Linked DNA regions of Homo sapiens: regions 1 and 2 are each linked to region 3. The links are contacts of gene promoters, found by promoter capture Hi-C in blood cells and fetal thymus (Javierre and others, 2016). All regions are on one chromosome and are shown on one strand. The core of a region is centred on a gene start or on the middle of the fragment in contact, and the rest is flanking DNA. Distances in the headings are between cores, read along the strand shown.

Region 1 (3,168 bases), core at 40-2,539, 740 kb before region 3:
TGAGGAAGCGGCACTCGATGCGCCATCTTGGAGCGCAGAGCATGCTAAGGCCTTCAACTTCAGACTGCAGAGCCGGGGCACCTACAATTTTCTGACATCACCCAGCCTCAGGTATGCAATGACGGCCGCACAAACATAAAGCCCACTCAGACAGGGACCCGTGCCCGCTGACCTCCAGCGCGGCGTGGGCGGTCCTTTCAGAGGCAGGCTGTGGTTGGGGAGCTTGGCGCGGACTTTAGGAGGCCGGGTGTGCAGGTAGAGGCCGGACACGAGTAGAGGCTAGATGTGCAAATAGAGGCCGGGCACGAGTAGAGGCCGGGCACCAGTAGAGGCCAGGTGCGCGAGTAGAGGCCAGTTGTGCGAGTAGAGGCCGGGCACGAGTAGGGGCCGGGCACGCAAGTAGGGGCCGGGCACAAGGAGGAGGCTGAGCGCGAGTAGGGACGGGGTGCAAAGAGGAGGCCGGGCGTGAGAAGGCCGCGCGCGAGGAGGCCGGGCACGAGGTGGAGGACACGCGCAAGGAGGCCGAGATTCTCACCGGGTCTGTGGAGACGCGCACCCCAGGGGTCATGCCCTGGCTTCTGGCAGGAACGGCTGGCCCTGCTCTGTGGGAAAGGGGAGGTGAGCAGCTGGGGCAGGCAGAGGCGGTGCTCAGGTCCCCAAGCCGGGGAACTGCGCCAGAGCCTGGGGAGCTCCGCGGAGAGCCGTCCAGGGCCCCGCGTACCCGTTTAAGCGCCTGCTGTGTGTGGGGCGGCCCTCCGCTCGGAGAAGGGCAGCCTAGGGTTTTCCCGCCTGTCTGAGGGAAGCTGAAGGCCTGGCGGGTGCGGACACATATCTGCTGCGCAGACTCTGAGCCTTAACGCTACAGTGACAAGGGCCGGGTGGTTGCGGTCCCCTGGCCCTGGGCACTATGCCTCAGTTTCTCTCTTCCATCAACAAAGGTGGCGGCCCAGTGCCCGGTGTGGGGCAGAGGTGGGGCCAGGGGCGGGGCGCGCGTTCCCTCAGGGGCCGTCGGAGCAGCTCCTGTCCAGCTGGGCGTTGGGCCCCGCCCTCCTCTCAGACTAGGGATGCCCCGCAAAGCCTGCCCCCGCCAGCCCCGAAACGGCCTTCCCCAGGCCCCGGGCAGCAAAACGGACTCCACACAGACGCGCGCTGCTGGAAACTCGCCCCGCCAGGGCCTCAGGAAGATCCCCGGACCCCCCGCACCCGGCCCGGCCCGGCCCGGCCTGGCCTCCCCTCCCCCTCCTCGCCGGCCTAGCTCACCCTCCTGACTGCGAGACAAAGGCCGCGGCACCGGCAGCCGACACTGCGCCGGCGCGAGCCTAACTCCATTTCCCAGAGAGCCGCGCGCGCATTTCCGGCCGCCCTCCCCCACCTCGCTCTCGCCCTTGGCGTTCGTGAGCTCTCAGTGCTGCTGGAGCTGGAGTGACTGGGCCTGGTGAAACAGGGCGCGCGGGGTGCCTGGGCATCAACGCGGGATAAGTGCCGCTTGGAACGCCGTGAGCTCCCGGCGCGACCACACGGGCTTTCGTGTTGGAAACTCTACCGTCAGTTTTACTGCTGCAAACAAAGCAATGATTTTTTCAAAACACATACTTTCAACCAAAACATTCACCAAGATCGCACACACGGGAGTCTTTGCATTTTCCACACTGAGGCAGCCATGGAGACTTCACACTGTATTTATTACATGGTTATAAGGAACATCACGTGCAAGACACTAACAATTATGACGACTTTGGACATTGCTAGGTAATTGTCAAAATTGTGCATTTGAACAGCAGCAAAATATTCAAAGCTGGTGTGCCCTCGCTGACACGAAATGAATTGTCATTTTCTGAACATTCACCAAAGCCTGCCAGGCGCTAGGCCTAGGTTCAGCAGCACACAATAGTGAAGCCCCCATTCAAGCGGGCTTCGTTTCACCAGCGTACGTCACACGTCCGTGGAGCAGCGAGACCAGAGGAGCTGGGAAAGCCAGGGCTGAGCCTTGTGCTTTTGCCCTTTTAAGGGAGGACAGATTAATTCCAATCAGCCTGGGCTTGGGAGCTGTATTTGAAGCAGAGGAAAAGTTTTAAGACGGGCATTTTTTTTTCTTTGACTGAAACAACTCTGAAAACAGCAGAGAACACAATACGAATTCTCGTACCACACACAGACACTTGCAAAGATTTGGCTGGTTAACACACAAGTTAAGACTTTAAATTTCATAAGCCCTAAAACAGTGGCAATTATGAAGAGATATAATGGCTCAAAATCATAATGCACTGATGTAAACAAAGCAAAGGCAAGCTTCTTGGCTTTTAAGGGCGTCCTGTACATTCCAAGTACTGTAAAGCCCCACATTTGTGACCGTCGCACTGAAAGCCAGCCTGCTTTTCACTCTACAGCAGTAAAGAGGCTTTCCATTATACATAAAATGCCGTTTTTCAGTTCTCGAACTCACAAACCCAAATGCCACAAAACATCTTTTTGTGTATTTTTTCTTTCACAAAATGTATACTCTTGCCCCCCACCCCCACCCCCAACCGTTTCCTTTTACTGGATCAAAAGGTATGAACACACAACTCATGGTGAAGTCTTTTTCCCAAGCGGTCTGATAGTCCTGGTGAGAAGCTGTCAGTGGTGCCACACTGAGCCTGCTCAGCCCTGATGGTGGCCAGGCGGCCCTGCCCAGCTCCCTCAAACTTGCCCCTCTGTTTCCTCCCTCAGACCTTCTGATCCTCTGTTTTTCTCAGCCAGGTTTCTAAACCGTACATGCTTTTGCAGGGGCGGGCTCTTTCTACAGGGGCAAGTGCTGCTTGGCTCCAGCCAAGTGGGGTCGTGCGGACTGGCAAGCCCAGCGTCCCAGGTCTGGATTTCTCTAAAGAACCCAGAGATCAGGATTTCTATGTGAAATCTCTTGATTTTTAAAAGCTGGTAGGGATTTCAAAGGCTTTAATAACACTCTACCAGTCAAATAAGATGAGCTGGAGGCTACTCCAGTGCCACCCTTGCTGTGGTCTGAACCTCCTGCTGTCTCTTGTAACCACTGGCTGGGCCCCTCTCAGCTCCTTCTTGGCTTCCTGTACGAATCTCCAAGCAGAGCATTGCTGGTTGCCTCTCTGTGGCCTGGAACAGGACCCCCCACCATGAGCAGGTGGGCTGCACATCAGTACAGCTTCCAAGCAA
Region 2 (3,415 bases), core at 916-3,415, 600 kb before region 3:
ATCACTACTACCAAGATACCATTTATTTTATTGTTTTTTGTTTCTTTGTTTGAGAGAGTCTCGCTCTGTCGCCAGGCTGCAGTGCAATGGCGCGATCTCAGCTCACAGCAACCTCTGCCTCCCGGGTTCAAGTGATTCTCCTGCCTTAGCCTCCCGAGTAGCTGGGACTACAGGCGTGTGCCACCACACCCGGCTAATTTTTTTTTTGTATTTTTAGTAGAGACGGGGTTTCACCATGTTAGCCAGGATGGTCTCGATCTCCTGAACTGGTGATCCGCCTGCCTCGGCCTCCCAAAGTGCGAGGATTACAGGCGTGAGCCACCGTGCCCAGCCTTATTGTTCTTTATAAGACTGATGTCAAATTACTAAAAGGAGTTGAATGTAAGTTAGAATATCAAGTAAAGGATACTAAGTGGGAAAAAGTGTTGTTCAATTAATTGAACGCTATAATGATTTGTGAACCCCCCAAATTTGAGACAGGTCTCAGTTAATTTAAATAGTTTATTTTGCTGGCCAGGTGTGGTGACTCATGCCTGTAACCCCAACACATTGGAGGGTGAGGCAGGCAGATCACGAGGGAGATCGAGACCATCCTAAACAAGGTGAAACCCCCGTCTGTACTGAAACTACAAAAATTGGCGTGATGCCACGTGCCTGTACTCCCAGCTACTCGGGAGGCTAAGGCAGGAGAATCACTTGAACCCGAGAGGCAGAGGTTGCAGTGAGCCGAGATCGCGCCACTGCACTCGAGCCTGACCAAAGAGCGAGACTCCGTCTCATAAAAGAAAAAGTTTATTTTGCCAAGGTTGAGGACACATGCCCGTGACACAGCCTCAGGAAGTCCTGACGACATGTGCCCATGGTGGTTGGGGTACAGGTTGGTTTTATACATTTTAGGGGGACATGAGACATCAGTGAATATATGTAAGAAGTACATTGGTTCCGACCAGAAAGGCGGGAACAACTCGAAGCAGGGAGGGGACTTCCAGGTCACAGGTAGACAGGTAGAGAGACAAATAGTTGGATTCTTTTTAATTTCTGATAAGTCCTTCCAAAGGAGGCAATCAGAATAGGCATCTATCTCAGTGAGGAGAGGGAAGACTTTGAATAGAATGGGAGGCAAGTTTGCCCTGAGCAGTTCCCAGATTGACTTTTCCCTTTAGCTTAGTAATTTTGAGGCCACAAGATTTTCCTTTCACAGATTCTATCAGCAGGAGAGTTGTTTTCTGTAGGAATCACAGAGATTCAGCTTTGCACTCCTGCTATAGGGGAGCACATCCCTAACTTCCTTCATTTGCCTTAGGCACTCTAAGGCTTCTGAGGGCCTTCAGACACATTATAACACAACAACGCTTATCAGCCTCTGCTTCCAGTGCAGGTATTTTGCGACTGAACGACTGTTTCAAACGGTGTGGTAATTTGGATTTTTAGCCTTTAGGAGAATCCTAAATAATAGTTTTAGCTTGAGCTCCCTATTATTTACCTTGCGCTCCCCGAAATCTGAAACAGTATTTTTCCAGATTCTTGAGTGATTAGTTACAGACACTAGTCTCCAGGAATCTCAATACGGCTTCTAAGGCTAGGTGAGACCCCTCCTCTGCCCTAGAAAGGCGCCTTTTTTTTTTTTTTTTTTTTTTTTTTTTTTTTTTTTTTTGAGACAGAGTCTTGCTCTGTCGCGCAGGCTGGAGGGCAGTGGCGCGATCCCAGCTCACTGCAAGCTCTGCCTCCCAGGTTCACGCCATTCTCCTCCAGCCTCAGCCTCCAGAGTAGCTGTGACTGTAGGCGCCCGCCACCACACCCAGCTAACTTTTTTTTTTTTTGAATTTTTAGTAGACACGGGGTTTCACCGTGTTAGCCAGGATGGTCTCCATCTCCTGACCTCGTGATCCGCCCACCTCCGCCTTCCAAAGTGCTGAGATTACAGGCTTGAGCCACTGCGCCCGGCCAGAAGGGTGCGCTTTTTAAGGAGAACCCCTGACCTGATGGCGGGCTTTTCCTGCAGATGGACTCTGGGTATCGCTCTTTTTAGCGCCATGGAAAGTGGGGAACTACATTACCCAGAAAGCTCTGCGTTAAACGACAGCCGGTCAGAGCCAATGAGCACTCGGAAAGAAGGCATTTCCACGTGTGCACGTAACGTAAGGCTGAGACTTCCGGGGTCTCTAGTAGCGGCTGTGTATCGGTGACGCGGGTGTTTCCCCAGTTTGTGGCCCCTGAGTGCTGGGGGGGGACCGCGGTGACTGAACCTAGAAGGTGGAGAGGAATCGTCCTCGGTGCCCAGAGGCGGCTCTGCAGCCCCGTGACGGCGACCACTGCTCCCGGGCCGTGCTTCCCCAAGTAGTCCGATGGCAGCGGCTGCGCCGAGGCGCCCGACTCAGGTAATTGTGGCGCCTTCTGTGCCCTCAGGTCACCCCATCGTCACCCAGGTCCTAAACCAGCGAGGGAGCGGCTCCTGCTCACGGGTCTGTAGCCGGTACCCGGCGTAGGAACACTGAGGCGCTCGCAGGAGGGGTCCCTGTGTAACTGTCCAGTGGGGGTCCCTGTGTAACTGTCCAGTGGGTTCACCTTGCCAGCTGCCTAGACAGAGCCGATTTATGAAGACTGGAGAATTGCGATGGAGAAATAGTAATTGACGCAGAGCCGTCAGGCTGTTCTGGAGACAGGAGTTTTATTATTACTCAAATCAGTCTCCATTAGCATTCCGGGATCAGAGTTTTCAACATTAATTTGGCGGTAAGGGTTGGGACCTGAGATGGATTCATAGAGGGTTAAAGTGAGTTTTTCATGCTGTTTTCTGTTCTGGGTGGGATGGCAGAACTGATTGACCCAGATTACCGGTCTGTGTGTTGTCAGCTGATCCATCCAGTGCAGGATCTGCAAAATACCTCAAGCACTGATCTTAGGTTTTACAATAGTGATTTATCTTCAGGAGCAACTTGGGGAGGTTCAGACTCTTGGAGTCAGAAGCTGCATGACCCCTAAACGGTAATTTCTAACCTTGTAGCTAATTCGTTAGTCCTGCAAAGGCAGGCTGTTCTCCAGGCAAGAAGGGGGTCTTTTCAGGAAAGGGCTATTATCAATTTTGTTTCAGAGTGAAACCATGAACTGAATTCCTTCCCTAAGTTAATTCAGCCTATACCCAGGAATGAACAAGGACAGCTGAAAGGTTGGAAGCAAGACGGAGTCAGTAAGGTCTGATTTCTTTCACTGTCATAATTTCCTCAGTTATAATTTTGCAAAGACGGTTTCACCTGTTTCTGACACCCGTGGGATGCGGTGGGGAGAGCAACAAGCACAGGGAGGGGCGCAGGCAATGGCCTGGAGATGGACGGAGCCGGGAGGATGGAACCTGTCTGGAACAAAGTGTGAGGTGGAGCTCTCCCTGGAAGAGTAAGCAGGCCGAGGGCTGTGCATT
Region 3 (3,260 bases), core at 736-3,235:
GGTTGGGCTTGAACTCATGATCCTCCTGCCTTAGCCTCCCAAGCTGGATATACAGACACATGCCACTGTGCTGGGGTTAGCCACTTGAAATATTTTCATGGACCTGGGCAGAGCAGCATAGTCATAATCACCTACCTCACAGAAGAGTCACCTGAGGTGGTGGCACCTGCCTCAAAAGTGGCAGGGCCTGGACCTGCATCTGCTGCCTCGGACACTTCTGGGCCTCACAGATGCCCATTCTCATAGGAAGAATCCACAACGAGCTATCACTACCTTTTCCTGTTTGAGTCCTACCAACAAGTATCCCTGAGGTCAGGATACTTCAGGAGCAAGGAACAAGAGTCACAGAGGACACAGCAGGTTGTAGCCATGAGAACATGGGCCCCTGACTGGCTATGTCTGTCCTGGCTAAGGAGGAAGGCACATCTAGCAAAAGACCACAAAATCTTGTGTCCCAAGACATGTGTCAGCTGGTATAGGAGAAAACCACTCAGGAAACCACTGTGGAAGCCACACGGGTCCCCTGCGGACTCCTTAAACAACCAATAAACCATTTTTTTTTAGTCCACACAGTTCCACCAGCATGAAATGCCATGACTCCTCATGTCCAAGACCACCTGCTAGAAGGAAGCCTGCTCAACTTGCAAAGTTTACTTTAGGTGTCACCCCCAGGCCTCCCTAACCATTGCGGGCAAAGAAGAGGGTAAAAACACAGGCTGTGATGGTAGACACACCAGTTGTTAGTTTCTGATACTTAAGAGCTACAGTGATGTAAGGCAGGTAATTGAACCTATGTGAGCCTCCAGCTGCTCTTGTGTAAAACAGTGAGGACAAGAGAACCTAATTCTAAGGAGTTCAGGATTAAAGGAGCTGAGGGTTAAATAATGCCTGCCAATCAGCCCACAGCAAGGACTCTTTATGATCAGCTGTCACTCTTTGCAATTATTTCGTTTCTCTTTGTTCACATAACATCCTAGACCAACTCAAACGGCAAGCTTCTTTAATATCGTCAGATTCTCTATACAAAAATGCCACACATTGCCAAAAATGGGCAAGTGCGTAAGGCGCCACTTTAGCCGGAATTGCCAAGAAAGCCACCTCCAAATAGGTGACATCTGGACAGAGGCCAGAAAGATATGAGAGGGAGGCCCTGCGAAGTTATAGGGGCAGTGTTCAAGGCAAAGGGAAGTGCAAAGAGAAAGCCTGGAAAAAGGAAGAAGACTGCACGGTCAGGTTGGTGGCTCTGAAGAGCAAAGGACAAGGGAAAAATGGAGAGACAAGGTCAGGGGTGGTTGGCCAGGTGGATGGGGTAGGGGCTGGCAGGCAACAGAGGAGGTTGGATTTAAGGGAAGTGTGATGAGATCCATGAAGGAAGCATCATTCATCCTTCTACCAAGGACTGAGCACCTGTCGGAGGCCAACACTATTGCAGGACTGCGGATAAAGGAAATGACAAGCTACGGCCACTTCTCTTAAATAAACGACGGCGACAAAGAAACATCCTGTGGCTGTCTTGGCTTCTGCCTGCCCACGAGGCCTCCAGAAGTAGCAGAGCAGCAGCAAGGCCAAAACCTCGTCCACTCACCTGCGCCGAGGCTGCCATCCTGAGACCCTGCAGCCCTAGCGGGGCCCGGGAATGCCGCGGCTCAGCCGACCCCCAGCCCTTCTCTGTCCTGGGCGGGGCGACCTCGGCTGACTTTCGCACTCGGAGCCTCAGTTTCCCCAGAGAAAAATGCGCACAAAGCGGGCGCAGCGTCGGGGCTGAGGAGACGGAGGGCGGCTGCGGAGGCCTAGGCCTCGGCAGGCGCCGGTGGAACACCCCGTTAGGGAAGAAGCGGGGCGTCAGGCTCCCGCCAAGATGCGGAGAAGGCGCGTAACAGCCTCATTACCCTCCCCTGCTCAGGCCGCTGGACGCGCCTACCCAGCGGTCCAGGCCCCACACTGTTCCAGGGCCAATCCTGCTCACGGAGATGACGTCACGCGACGAAGCGGAAGTCCCACCTCCGCCGCCCTGGCCCGCAGAAATCGCCCGTGTCCTGGCCCGTCATTGGCCTAGAGTCCGCGGCCGACGCAAGGGGTGGTGCCTTCTGAGTAAGGCAGTTTTTCCCTCACATCTACCGGGTGTGGGAACTCACCAAGCGCAGCCGACTCCATTTAAGTGCGCACAAGGACCCCCGCGTCGTCTTAGGGCCGCCGCTTTACTATGGGCACAAGTCGGAGGGTCGAAAGGTCCTTTCTAGCTTAGGAAAATTGAGGTCAGGAGGCGGGGATATTCGCCCCGATTGAGATCATGGGCTGGGCCCAGAGCTTCTGGCTCACTTCCCTTATTTTAGGGAGGTAGCTCATATATGTAATCTCAGTGCTTTGGGATGCCAACACAAAATAATTGCTGAGGTCAGGAGTTTGAGACCACCCTGGGCAATATAGTAAGATGTTATATCTACCAAAAAAAAAAAAAAGAGCAAGGCATGATGGTGTACACCTGTAGTCCTAGACACTGGGAGGCTGAAGCAAGAGGATTGCTTGAGCCCAGGAATTTGAGGTTATAATGAGATATGATGAGAGAAAACACACACACATAAACACACTGAGATGCCATCTTATACTGGTCAGAGTGGCTATTATTAAAAAGTAAAAAACCAACAGATGTTGGTATGGATGCAAGGAAAAGGGAACGCTTATATGCTATTGGTGGGAATGTAAATTAGTACAACCTCTATGGAAAACAGTATGGAGATTTATCAAAGAACTGAAAATAGAACTGCCATTTGATCTGGCAATTCCACTATTGGGTATTTACTTAAAGGAAAATAAACCACTATATCAAAAAGATGCCTGTACTTACATGCTTACTGTAGCACTATTCACAGTAGCAAAGTCATAGAATCAACCTAAGTGTCCATCGACAGATGATTGGATAAAGAAAATGCGATATATATATGTATATATATGTATGTATATGTATATATGTATATATATGTATGTATATGTATATATGTATGTATATGTATATATATGTATATATGTATGTATATGTATATATATGTATATATGTATGTATATGTATATATATGTGTATATATGTATGTATATGTATATATATGTATATATATGTATGTATATGTATATATATGTATGTATATGTATATATATGTATATATATGTATGTATATGTATATATATGTATATATATGTATGTATATGTATATATGTATATATGTATGTATATGTATATATATGTATATATATGTATGTATATG

What was found. The method cuts DNA at HindIII sites, captures the fragments that hold promoters and counts their contacts. A CHiCAGO score of 5 or more calls a contact.
Region 1: a contact is called between the fragment with the promoter of ZNF135 here and the fragment with the promoter of ZNF543 in region 3, in 4 of 17 cell types (neutrophils, total CD4 T cells, naive CD8 T cells and 1 more). The highest score is 7.5, in neutrophils.
Region 2: a contact is called between the fragment with the promoter of ZNF417 here and the fragment with the promoter of ZNF543 in region 3, in 5 of 17 cell types (fetal thymus, total CD4 T cells, naive CD8 T cells and 2 more). The highest score is 8.2, in fetal thymus.

The regions. Positions count from the first base shown.
Region 1 is chr19:58,057,403-58,060,570 of GRCh38, reverse strand. ZNF135 (zinc finger protein 135) reads right to left here and starts at 1,289. Exons shown (of 5, transcript NM_001289401.2): 1 at 1,261-1,289; 2 at 536-602. The coding sequence starts at 568. The HindIII fragment of the contact is 3,956 bases long and covers 1-2,291 here.
Region 2 is chr19:57,915,342-57,918,756 of GRCh38, reverse strand. It overlaps ZNF417 (zinc finger protein 417), which reads left to right and starts at 2,165. Exons shown (of 3, transcript NM_152475.3): 1 at 2,165-2,378. The coding sequence starts at 2,346. RefSeq lists enhancers at 1,789-1,848, 1,245-2,100, 2,119-2,408. The HindIII fragment of the contact is 13,199 bases long and covers 1-3,415 here.
Region 3 is chr19:57,319,197-57,322,456 of GRCh38, reverse strand. ZNF543 (zinc finger protein 543) reads right to left here and starts at 1,985. Exons shown (of 4, transcript NM_213598.4): 1 at 1,586-1,985. The coding sequence starts at 1,603. RefSeq lists enhancers at 1,887-2,036, 2,047-2,166, 3,092-3,260. The HindIII fragment of the contact is 3,609 bases long and covers 998-3,260 here.